4 separate regions of the Homo sapiens genome follow, and all the other regions are linked to region 1. The links are contacts of gene promoters, found by promoter capture Hi-C in blood cells and fetal thymus (Javierre and others, 2016). All regions are on one chromosome and are shown on one strand. Each heading gives the region's core, a stretch centred on a gene start or on the middle of the fragment in contact. The rest is flanking DNA. Distances are from core to core; before and after follow the strand shown. Region 1 holds the start of FBXO17 (F-box protein 17). Region 2 overlaps RYR1 (ryanodine receptor 1). Region 3 holds the start of IFNL2 (interferon lambda 2). Region 4 overlaps RYR1 (ryanodine receptor 1).

Region 1 (2,799 bases), core at 204-2,703:
CCCTCTCTACTAAAAATACAAAAATTAGCCAGGCGTGGTGGCGCGTTCCTGTAATCCCAGCTACTCGGGAGGCTGAGGCACAAGAATTGCTTGAGCCCGGGAGGTGGAGCTTGCAGTGAGCCAAGATCTAGCCACTGCACTCCAGCCTGGGCAACAGAGCGAGACTCCGTCTCAAAAAACTAAAATAAAATAAATAAACCCCCCAAAATCCGGAATGCAAAACAAACCTAGGCCTACGCCTTTCACATAAGGAACTGCGTGTGGATCTGTGCTAAAAACTCTACCAATAATACAGTAATTTTACAACCCACAGCAGAAAATGCTTTCAAAGGCGGTTGTTACAAATAATGTAATAGTAGTCAAATTAGCGTTGGCTCTGAGTCCAGCACTGTGCTCCGCGCTGCACACGCAGTCTCACGCCGTCCTCACGATGGCGCTGTGGGGCCTGGCTGAGGTTTCTAGGGGAAGGGGCTTTAGGGAATCCAGGCTCTCTGGCTGTGTGACCCCTCCAAGCTAGCGACTTGGACTACGTGCAACAGACCAGGTATCTCTGGACTTCAGTTTCTCGGGAGAGGCGTCCATGAGGAGGTCATGCATACAAAGCATTTAGCACAGTGGCAGATATGAGCCAGTGGGCCTGGAGAATGATTTACCAGCGTGGGGGAGGCCTGGCTTCCAGAAAACTAGCTCTGGGGTGTCTGAGATCAGTCACCTTGAGGTCCCTGGTGCAATCTAGGGCCATCAGAAGGGACTGCAAAGACCCAAGGGCAGAGGTAAAGGGAGAAAATGGGTCGCGGCCCCAGCCTGACCGAAACTGAACCTCCGGATTAATTCAGTTGTCTATAGCTGGGGGGATGGGGAGGACAGGGGAGTCCTAAGGTGGAAGGGTACAGGTTTGTCATTGCCACAGAGAGTGCGTGTGGTGAAGGGATTTAATTTAAGATCAGCCCCGGGCTTCTGAGAATCTGGCCCTGGGAAGCAACGTAAATACAAGAAAATCCCTGTGGCCAGGGACTTTGATCCAAGTGTTTCGAATCAGGCCCTGGGTCGGGCTCACAGCTAAGCGGTTTACCAACCGTGGACCTGTGCAGGATCCCATGGATGTGAGGGGTGGAGACGGCCGCAAGCAGGAGGCCAGGACCAGAAGGAAACGGAATTTGGGTGGGGGTGGGGAGCTAGGACCAGTCCCCCCGCGGGGGCGTCTTGGGGATGTGGAACTCGCACACCCAGAGGAGGTGGCTCTCCCAGGGGTGGGCCCCGGATCCTAGGGGCGCGGGGCTGGCCCCGCTCCCCGCTGGCCTCGCGGCAACTGGGCCTCCCCCTCGCTGCACGCAGCCCTCCAAGCTCCCCCGCCCGCCCGCCCTCGCTCCCGCTGGGCCCCGCAGCCGGAGGAGGGGCGGCCTCCCGCCCCCGCCCGCTGGATCTCAGAGTCGCCGCCCCCGGCGCCGGGCTGCAGCCGCCACGCCCCGGGAGAGGACCGACCGCCCAGACCGCCGGTCCCGGGGCCCCCTGGGCCACGCCGATCACGGGGAGCCCCTCGACTGCCTCCCAGAACAAAGTGGGAAAGGGAAGCTTAGCCCGCCGCTGCCGCCTCCGAGCAGCCCGCCAGGTGAGCGCCGGGACAGGTAGGGGACCCAGGTCGGGACCCAAGCGTCAGTCCCGTTCTCGCCCACAGCTGGGGCGCCCCGGGAAGGATTCCCGCGCCAGGCCCTGCCCGGAGGGGCGGGTCCCTGGGAGTCCCATAACCCGCAGCGTCGCTTTCCCGGGCCCTCCCTCGGCCTGAGGCTCCTTTAAACCCAAAGTTATACAAATGCACGTTAGAAAGCCCTAAATCTGGAAGGGCTTTGCTTTGAACGTGGGTGTTCGAACGCCCAGGCCTCTCCATCCCTGCGCTCGTCCGCGGAGGCCACCATCCAAAACCCCTGCCAAACGCTGCAAACCAACACGTGGGCGCAACAGCCCGGGGAAGGCCAGGCCGCTTTTTACCGTTGCTGGATTTTCTGTCTTCTGGCCGTCAGTCCCTTCGCAGAATCTGTGAATCAGAAGCCTTGGAGGGCGGTTTCTCGATTTAGCAACTTGGGCACATTATGTGTTTCGCTGCGGCCCCAACCCTCAATTTAAATTTTGTTCTGCCAAGTTACTTTTGCAATGTTCAGTGATATGTTCGAAAGCTCTGTATACTGCCTCTTCAACTTTAGACAGCGTCTATTTACTCCATATTTTGAAAGACAAATATTATGGGAGTCTAGTTGTAAAATAAATAATACTTCTTTAAAAATGTTCCAGTAATACACGACACTCAGACACGTAGGACAGGACAGAGCTTTGCATGGAAAACAACACGCCTTTAAACAACAACCTCTCCCTCACCACCGCCCCCAACCCCTGTCGGCCAAATACATTTTTTTGTTAACTACATTACTTTTCAAAAATGGCAAGAAGTAACTCGTGATCGCTGGTGCCTCGTTTTTAACTTTTTCCACTTTTTATTCCTCTGGTATCTATTTCCAAATCTTTACAGCATATTTTTGGATTGTTATTTCTTATTTCATCAACTTTTAGACAACGCGTCCATGGATCCCTTGCTAAAAATAGGAGACAACTTTGATCATCTCCGTGGTTTTCCTCCTCCCTATATAATCACCTCCCTGTATAGTCAGGACATTACTTTCGGCTTCTCTATTGGCTACTTTTCTAACATAAAATAATTTTTTTAACTTGTATTTATTGTTCCATTAAATATACCTAGTATCTGTTGACTCTCTTTTTGTAAGGCTTGGCTAAGGAGCTTCTTTTTAA
Region 2 (2,700 bases), core at 96-2,595, 500 kb after region 1:
TTTGAGACCAGCCTGGGCAACATAGCAAGATCCTGTCTCCACTAAAACTAAAAAAAATTAGCCAGGCATGGTGGTGCATACCTGTAGTCCCAGCTACTCAGGAGGCTGAGGTGGGAGGATCACTTGAACCTGGGAGGCAGAGGTTGCAATGAGTCGAGATTGCGCCACTGCACTCCAGCCTGGGTGACAGAGGGAGACCCTCTCTCAAAAAACAAACAGACAAAAAAGATGAAACAAGATTGGCTGTGAGTGGGTGACAGTTGAAGCTGTGTGACAGGGGCATGGCAGTTCATTATACTATTCCATTCTTGTATACGTTTTTAATTCTCCATTTAACATAAAGCTTTAGCCAGGAGCAGTGGCTCACGCCTGCAATCCCAGCACTTTGGGAGGCTGAGGCAGAAGGATTGCTTGAGACCAGGAGTTTGAGACCAGCCTGGGCAACATAGTGAGACCCCGTCTGCACAATAAATACAAAAAAAATTAGCTGGGCATGGTGGCACGTGCCTGTGTTCTCAACTATTCAAGAGGCTGAAGTGGGAGGATCGCTTGAGTCCAGGAAGGTTGTGGCTGCAGTGAGCTGTGATCTCACCATGGCACTCCAGCCTGGGTAACAGAGCGAAACCCTGTCTCAAAAAATAAAAATAAAAAATAAGCCAGGCACAGTGACTCAAGCCTGTAATCCCAGCATTTTGGGAGGCCAAGGTGGGGAGATCGCTTGAGCCCAGAAGCGAGAGACCAGCCTGGACAATATGAGGAAAACCCATCTCTACAAACAATACACACAAAAAATCAGCTAGTCAAGGTGGTGCATGCCTATAGTCCCAGCTACTTAGGAAGCTGAGACAGAAGGATTGCTTGAGCCTGGGAAGTTGAGGCTGCAGTCAGCTGTGATCACACCACTGCACTCCAGCCTGGGGGACAGAGTGAGGCCCTGTCTCAAAATAAAGAAAATAAAATGCAATAAAATTTCATAACCAACAATGGATGCCAAAAAATTAAAATAAAGTTGTACAAACCCACCTTAGATTAATGGACAGGTAGGTGAATATGTGATAAAGCCAATATCTACAACATTGATAGTAGATTCCAGGTGGTGGGTACAGGGTGTTATCTACATAGCTCCTTCAATTTTGCTGTATGATTGAAATTTTTCAGAATAAAATGTTGAAAAGGAAAAGGCCACCTTAGGATTCTGGCCCATCCTAGCGTGTTCCCTGGTTGGAGAGAAGTTGGTGACTGGTGTCACCCAGCTCAAGAGGGAACAGAAACCTCTTTCCAAGGTCAAGGCTGGACTCTGGCTGGGTGTGGTGGCTCACGCCTGTAATCCCAGCACTTTGGGAGGCCGAGGTGGGTGGACCACTTGAGGTCAGGAATTTGAGACCAGCCTGGCCAACACAGTGAAACCTCGTCTCTACTAAAAACATAAAACTTAGCCGGCTGTTGTGGTGCTCGCCTGTAATCCCAGCTACTCAGGAGGCTGAGGCAGGAGAATCCCTCTAACCCAGGAGGCGAAGGTTGCAGTGAGCCAAGATCGTCCCATTGCACTCCAGTCTGGGCAACAGAGTGAGATTCTGTATCTCCTCCAGTCTGGGCCTTAGTTTCATGGAAGTTTCAACAAGGTGGTCTCCCAGCGACCTCTTGAGGACAGCCTAGGAGCTGTTTTTGTTCCATCTCTGAGGTCTGGCCTCAGGGGACATCTATAAGAGCTGTCCTGGGATGCTGGGACATGATGCTCTCGCTAAATTGCTGTGGCCTGGACTCACCTGGAAAAAGGTGTTGCTCTCTTTGCCATTGGCTGTAAAGGTCATTAAGCCAGTGGCCAAGTCCACCAGGCACCCAATGACAAGGTCCGTGTGGCTGATCCGGCCCTGCTGCCCGGGACTCACAAAGTCTCCGCCCCACACCATGTAGCAGTTGCTACACTTGAGGCTGCAGGAGACAGAAGCGGTCACTGCACTCCTCATGTGAGTAGCTCTGGACCCTGGACACCCCCTTCCCCAAGCTCCCGGAAACACACAACCTCAGAGTCCCATCCCCAAACACCCACCGCCTGCAGACCTGAGAGCTGAAACCCCTCGCCCCGGACACTGAGCTCTTCGGAGCTGGGATTCCTAGCAGCTGGCGCAGTGGGGAGTCAGGATGGGGGTGGGGGTCTGAAAGGAGGGAAAGCAAGGGAAGCAGGAGGAGAGAGAATGAGATGACAGAGAAGGAGAAGGGTGAGATGAAACAGGATGAGAAGGAAAAGGAGAAAATGGAATAGGAGAAATGCATAAAGAGGAGGAGGAGGAGAAGAAAAATACCAGGGCAGGAAGAGAGGAGGAAAAAGAGGAGGAGGGAAGCTTCCGAGCTGGGTGCCCAGTGCCCCAGAGAATCCTCCCGCTCCAGAAAGTTCCTAGGTCCCACAACCAGGCAGCCACAGAGCTGGTGTCGGGAGCTCTGACTGCCTCCTGCCCTCCCCACCCTGCACCTCCCACCTCCCCCCAGCCCCGGCACCTGCTGTGGACGTTGCCTTGTTCATCCCCCATGGTCACCGTCACGACCCGGACCTTGCTGAGGTCGAAGCTCATGTCGTGCTGATGGTAGTCAGGGGTGACCCAGCCCGCCCACACGCAGCTGGGCTCCTGTCCAGCAAAGACCCTCACGGAGTAATAGTACTGGTGACACAAGGAGGGGAACTAGTGGTCAGTCTGGAAGTCA
Region 3 (2,844 bases), core at 294-2,793, 290 kb before region 1:
GGCCTCGAGGCAGCCAGGGGACTCCTGTAGGGAGGAGGGGATGGGTCAGGGGCTGTCTGGGTTCTGGGCTCCCAGTGGCTCCCCAGACCTCAGTCCCTCTCTTCCCGGGTCACTCACCTTTTTTGGGGCCTCCTGGAGCCGGTACAGCCAATGGTGGAGGCGGCCCCGGGTCCTGGGCCCTGCCGTGGGCTGAGGCTGGATCTGTGGGCAGAGGAGGGCGGTGTGTGAGCCGGGGCCTTGGCAAGGGGAAGGACGCTGCTCAGAGCTCACAGACCTGGGTGCCCAGGCCCCAACGACTCACACAGGCCCGGAACTGGGAGAGGATATGGTGCAGGGTGTGAAGGGGCTGGTCCAAGACGTCCACCAGGGCTGGGTCAGTGTCAGCGGTGGCCTCCAGAACCTTCAGCGTCAGGGCCAGCTCAGCCTCCAAAGCCATGGGGCGCTCCCTCACCTGAGGAGAGGTGAGAAAGAGCAGGTGAGGGGGGAGGTGAGGGGAACAGGTTGGGGAGCAGGATAGAGAGGAACAAGTGAAGGTGACAGGCACAGGGGAGAGGGCACAGCCAGTGTGGTCAGGTGGGAGCGGAGGGAAGGGAGAGCAGGTGTGAGGAGAAGAGAGAGAGACAAGGGAGAAAGAGACGGTGAAGGGGCCACTACAGAGCCAGGTGAGTGGGGCTGGGAGAGCAGGGGTGGGCCTGACTCCCCCTCTCACCTGCAGCTGCCTCAGGTCCCAGGTCCTGGGGAAGAGGCGGGAGTGGCACCTGCAGTCCTTCAGCAGAAGCGACTCTTCCTAGACAGCAAAGGCACAGGTTAGCCCCAGCAGGAGGGGTGGAGGTTAGACCATCCTGGTGGGATTGGAGGATGGCTGACAACAGGATAGGGGAGGTTAACTGCTGGGAGGATGGTAGAGGACCCTCTTCTACAGGAAAACATGAGTCAGTCCCTACAGTAGGAGCATGAGATAGCCCACTGCAGGGAGGGTGGAGGCTAGCCCAGTGAAGGAAGCTGGGAGTGGGAAAGCATGGTGACGCTTGGAGTGGGGGTGGAGGCTAGTCCATGGCAGGAGGGCAGGGGGAGACTCACTAAGGCATCTTTGGCCCTCTTAAAGGCCTGCAGCTCCTGTGGAGACAGGGACTTGAACTGGGCTATGTGGCAGCCCCTTGCATCCGGGAGAGCCCCGTGGAGCCTGGCGACAGGAACTGCTCCAGTCACGGTCAGCACTGCGGCCATCAGCACCAGCACTGGCGTGCAGTCCCCAGTCATGTCTGTGTCACAGAGAGAAAGGGAGCTGAGGGGATGGAGAGGCTGCCCACTGAGGGCAGGGGCTGCAGGAGCTGAGCACGGACAGAGATGTGGGACTCACCTAGTTTCATTCCTGATCTCTGGTCTTTGTCAGCAGAAGAAACACTCTGAGGCTGTCACCCAGGGTCTGTTTGGGTCTTGTCTGGAGTCTCTGTTCTTTTCAGTCCCCTCTTCTGGATCTCAGACTGTGTCCTGGCTTTGACTCTTTCTGTCAGTTTTGAGCTCTGTCTGGGATGTAATTCCTGCCTGAGCTCCATGGGGCAGCTTTTATCCCTGACAGAAGGGCAGTCCCAGCTGATGTAGGAAAAGTGAAAACACAGCCTCAGGTAAGACACCGGCCACCAGGGGAGCCCCAGGCTGGGAAAGCCCAGAGCAGGGCAGGGCTAGTGAGCCAGATGAGCAGCTGGAGGGAAAGAGAAACTGATGGAGACTCAGGGGTAACCTACAGGAAGGTATGTTCCCAGGAGGATTCCACCTGCTCTGGTTTTGTTGTTGTTTAAGACAGGGTCTCACTCTGTCACTGGAGTGCAATGGCATGATCACAGCTCACTGCAGCCTCAAACTCCTGGGCTCAAGCCATCCTCCTCACCCAGCCTATTAAAGTGCTGAGATTACAGGCCTGAGCCACCCCTCCTGGCATATATATATATATATATTTTGAGACAGGGTCTTGTTCGGTCACCCAGGCTGGAGTGCAGTGCAAAATCTTGACTAACTGCAACCTCCACCTCCTGGGTTCAAGCGATTCTCTTGCCTTAGCCTCCCAAGTAGCTGAGATTACAGATTTGTGCCACCATTCCCAGCTAATTTTTATGGTTTTAGTAGAGATGACAGTTCACCAATTGGCCAGGCTGGTCTCGAACTCTTGACGTCAAGTGATCTGTCTGTCTTGGCCTCCCAAATTGCTGGGGTTGCAGGCATGAGCCACTGTGCCCAGAGGCCATGATTTCTTTCTTTCTTTCTTTTTTCTTTTTTTTTTGAGATGGAGTCTTGCTCTGTAGCCCAGGCTGGAGTGCAGCAGCGTGATCTCGACTCACTGCAACCTCCACCTCCTTGGTTCAAGGGATTCTTCTGCTTCAGCCTCCCGAGTAGAAAGGACTATAGGCATGCACCACCACGCCCAACTAATTTTTGTATTTTTAGTAGAGACGGGGTTTTGCCATATTGGCCAGGTTGGTCTTGAACTCCTGACCTCGTGATCTGCCTTCTTCGGCCTCCCAAAGTTCTGGGATTATAGGCGTGAGCCACCGCGCCCGGCCAGAGGCATATATGTGTGTGTATATATATATATATATATATATATAGAGAGAGAGAGAGAGAGAGAGAGAGAGAGAGAGCATGAGAGAGAGTGAGTGAGCAAGAGAGATGGAGTCTCGCTCTGTTGCCCAGGCTGGAGTGCAGAGGCACCATCTCAGCTCACTGCAACCTCTGCCTCCTGGGTTCAAGTGATTCTCCTGCCTCAGCCTCTTGAGTAGCTTGGATTACAGGCATGTGCCACCATGCCCAGCTAATTTCTGTATTTTTAGTAGAGACAGGGTTTCACCA
Region 4 (2,876 bases), core at 87-2,586, 440 kb after region 1:
CACATGAAGGCAAGTCCAGGCTTTCCAGCCCAGCCTTTCCCCCTCACATTCTCACTTCTGCCCTCCCTGTTCCAGCCACATCCACAACTCACTCCTTCAACCATGAGCTCCCTCCATCCCCTGGGGCTCACACCCTCGATGTATCTCCTGTACCTAGCACGGGGCTAGGCATTAGGCAAGATCTACATAAATCAGAGCTGGGCATGCAGCAGTCTTAACCTGGGCCCATGGGCCTCCAGGCCATCTGTGAACTTGGATGATGAAAAGTTACATTTTTATGTTTTCCGCCCTCTAACAGAAATGAAGCATTTCCTTCCTATATGGATGAAGCCATAAATCACAGCGATATTAGCAGAACCTGTGGCTTTGTCACCAATAAAAATCACAGATGTGGCTGGGCAAGGTGGCTCACATCTGTAATCCCAGCACTTTGGGAGGCCGAGGCAGGGAGATCACGAGGTCAAGAGGTCAAGACTATCCTGGCTAACACAGTGAAACCCCGCCTCTACTAAAAATACAAAAAATTAGCCAGGCGTGGTGGCATGAGCCTGTAGTCCTAGCTACTTGGGAGGCTGAGGCAGGAGAATTGCTTGAACCCGGGAGGTGGAGGTTGCAGTGAGCTGAGATCACGCCACTGCACTCCATCCAGCCTGGGCGACACAGCGAGACTCTGTCTCAAAAAAAAAAAAAAAAAAAATTACAGATGGTTCCATATCACATTATTATTGCTGTATATTCCATATCACATTATTGTTGCAGAATTAGAACCATTTCCTATTCAAATTCTGCTCTTTTGGTCCAGGAAGAGAGACTCACTCACAATGGCTCAAAGATGTCTTTAAATATCAGTTATGTTCATCACTACTTCTCAATTATAGTAGCTGTTGGATCTACTGCTAGATCTTTTTTTTTTTTTTTTGAGATGGAGTCTCGCCCAGGCTGGAGTGCAATGGCGTGATCTCGGCTCACTGCAACTTCCACCTCGCGGGTTCAAGCGATTCTCCTGCCTCAACCTCCTGAGTAGCTGGGATTACAGGTGCCTGCCACCATGCCCAGCTCATTTTTGTATTTTTAGTAGAGATGGGGTTTCACCATGTTGGCCAGGCTGGTCTTGAACTCCTGGCCTCAGGTGATCCACCCGCCTTGGCCTCCCAAAGTGCTGGAATTACAAGTGTGAGCCACTGCGCCCAGCCTTAGATCTTATTTGATAGATTAACAATGTACAAGTATTACTGGATCACAAATTCATTTTTAAAATATTTTGATAGCTATTCAATACTTGTTTCCTCTGCTATGAATTCATTTTATACATTTAAAAACATGATCCTGAGAAAGTCTTCACCAGATGCCAGAAGGGACTCTGGCACAGAAACAGTGAAGAAAACTATGAAGTAAATGCTTGCTAACTGTCTCAATGAATGAATGGATCGGTGAATTGCATGTTTACTAGCTCTTTCTTGCTGCCTGGCCTTGGCATATACTATTCTCCCTACGTAGAACATTTTTCTCTTTTTCTTCAACTGGCAGGCTCCTTTTATCCTTCTGCTCAGAAGTCCCCTCCTCCGAGAAGCCCTCCCTGATACATTTTCCTGCAGGCTGGGTCAGGCACCTTGTTTGGGCTGCTTTATCCCCCTGAGGTTCCCCCATCTTGGCCCTGACCCCTCTGCCTGTATCCCCATCATCCCAACCCTGACCCCTCTGCCTGAGCCTCCTCAATCCCAGCCCTGACCCCTCTGCCTGAGCCTCCCCAATTCCAGCCCTGACCCCTCTGCCTGAGCTTCCCCCATGACCATGGTGTACACTCCGTGGTGTTAGTTTGGCGGGTGTATCTGTCTCCCCAGTGGACTGACTTGGTCACTGCTGTGTCCCCAGAGCTTTGCTCTGTGAACACATGCTGAATGAATGGGAGATGACTGCAGTCAGGGTCCCCCATCCCTTCCCTCCAGGACCTCCTGAGCCCACCTACCTCAAAGGAGACCTCAACCTCCTCTTCAGCTTCACCGTTCTCCCCTCCCTCCTCCAGGTGGCAGCTCTGGGGAGGGGGCATCAGTTAAGGGATGAACAAAGCAGACCCCTCCATCCCGCCCCAGCCCTTTTTGTGGACAAGCACTGCAGGTGGGGAGAGGGAAATCTGCCCCAGAAGAGGGGGGTAGGGCCTCACCTTTGCCATGATATCAGCATAGGCCATGTACAGGTAATCCTCATCCAGTTTGCTGGGGAAGTAAGCAGGGGAGTGGTCAGGACCCGGTGGAGAGGACCCCCATCTTATAAGAGCTTCTGGGCAGGGTGCGGTGGCTCATGCCTGTAATCCCAACACTCTGGGAGGCTGAGGCAGGCAGATCACTTGAGATCAGGAGTCTGAAACCAACCTAGCCAACATGGTGAAACCCCGTCTCTACTAAAAGTACAAAAAATTAGCCGGGTGTGATGGTGCTTGCCTGTAATCCCAGCTACTCGGGAGGCTGAGGCAGGAGAATTGCTTGAACCCGGGAGGCAGAGGTTGCAGTGAGCTGACATTGCGCCACCGTACTCCAGCCTGGGTGACAGAGCAAGACTCCATCTCAAAAAAAAAAAAAAAAAGAGCTTCTGGTTTTCTTTGGAGGGCCAACCCTCCCCATGTTCAGGCTGTGTGACTCAGGTGGCTGGAGTGGCCATTGCCAGGGTGGCTTGTGACAAATGCATGGCCGATGAGGACTTTTATCTGTGTGGCCATGATGACAGGTAAGAAATGGTCATGTTGTCCATGCTGTCCAGTAAAATCCATTCTGGGAGTTGTTTTGTTTGTTTATTTTGTTCTTGAGACAGGGTCTTGCTCTGTTGGCCAAGCTGGAGTGCAGTGGTGCCATCAAGGCTTACTGCAGCCTCAACCTCCCAGG

Evidence for each region. The method cuts DNA at HindIII sites, captures the fragments that hold promoters and counts their contacts. A CHiCAGO score of 5 or more calls a contact.
Region 2: a contact is called between a fragment that was not itself captured here and the fragment with the promoter of FBXO17 in region 1, in 1 of 17 cell types (erythroblasts). The highest score is 6.1, in erythroblasts.
Region 3: the fragment with the promoter of IFNL2 here is called in contact with the fragment with the promoter of FBXO17 in region 1 in 9 of 17 cell types (erythroblasts, M0 macrophages, activated CD4 T cells and 6 more); the score reaches 9.0 in erythroblasts.
Region 4: a fragment that was not itself captured here is called in contact with the fragment with the promoter of FBXO17 in region 1 in 1 of 17 cell types (naive B cells); the score reaches 5.7 in naive B cells.

What each region holds. Positions count from the first base shown.
Region 1 is chr19:38,974,396-38,977,194 of GRCh38, reverse strand. It overlaps FBXO17 (F-box protein 17), which reads left to right and starts at 1,453. Exons shown (of 6, transcript NM_024907.7): 1 at 1,453-1,609. The HindIII fragment of the contact is 5,979 bases long and covers 1-1,574 here.
Region 2 is chr19:38,477,667-38,480,366 of GRCh38, reverse strand. It overlaps RYR1 (ryanodine receptor 1), which reads right to left. Exons shown (of 106, transcript NM_000540.3): 30 at 2,497-2,657; 31 at 1,767-1,932. Among named protein-coding and RNA genes, the nearest start is that of RYR1, 45 kb to the right of the region's middle. RefSeq lists a silencer at 1,327-1,670. The HindIII fragment of the contact is 1,999 bases long and covers 346-2,344 here.
Region 3 is chr19:39,267,095-39,269,938 of GRCh38, reverse strand. It overlaps IFNL2 (interferon lambda 2), which reads right to left and starts at 1,543. Exons shown (of 6, transcript NM_172138.2): 1 at 1,361-1,543; 2 at 1,081-1,262; 3 at 710-787; 4 at 302-451; 5 at 118-201; 6 at 1-24. The coding sequence starts at 1,370. The HindIII fragment of the contact is 23,103 bases long and covers 1-2,844 here.
Region 4 is chr19:38,531,827-38,534,702 of GRCh38, reverse strand. RYR1 (ryanodine receptor 1) reads right to left here. Exons shown (of 106, transcript NM_000540.3): 77 at 2,162-2,213; 78 at 1,967-2,032. Among named protein-coding and RNA genes, the nearest start is that of MAP4K1-AS1, 63 kb to the left of the region's middle. The HindIII fragment of the contact is 7,271 bases long and covers 1-2,876 here.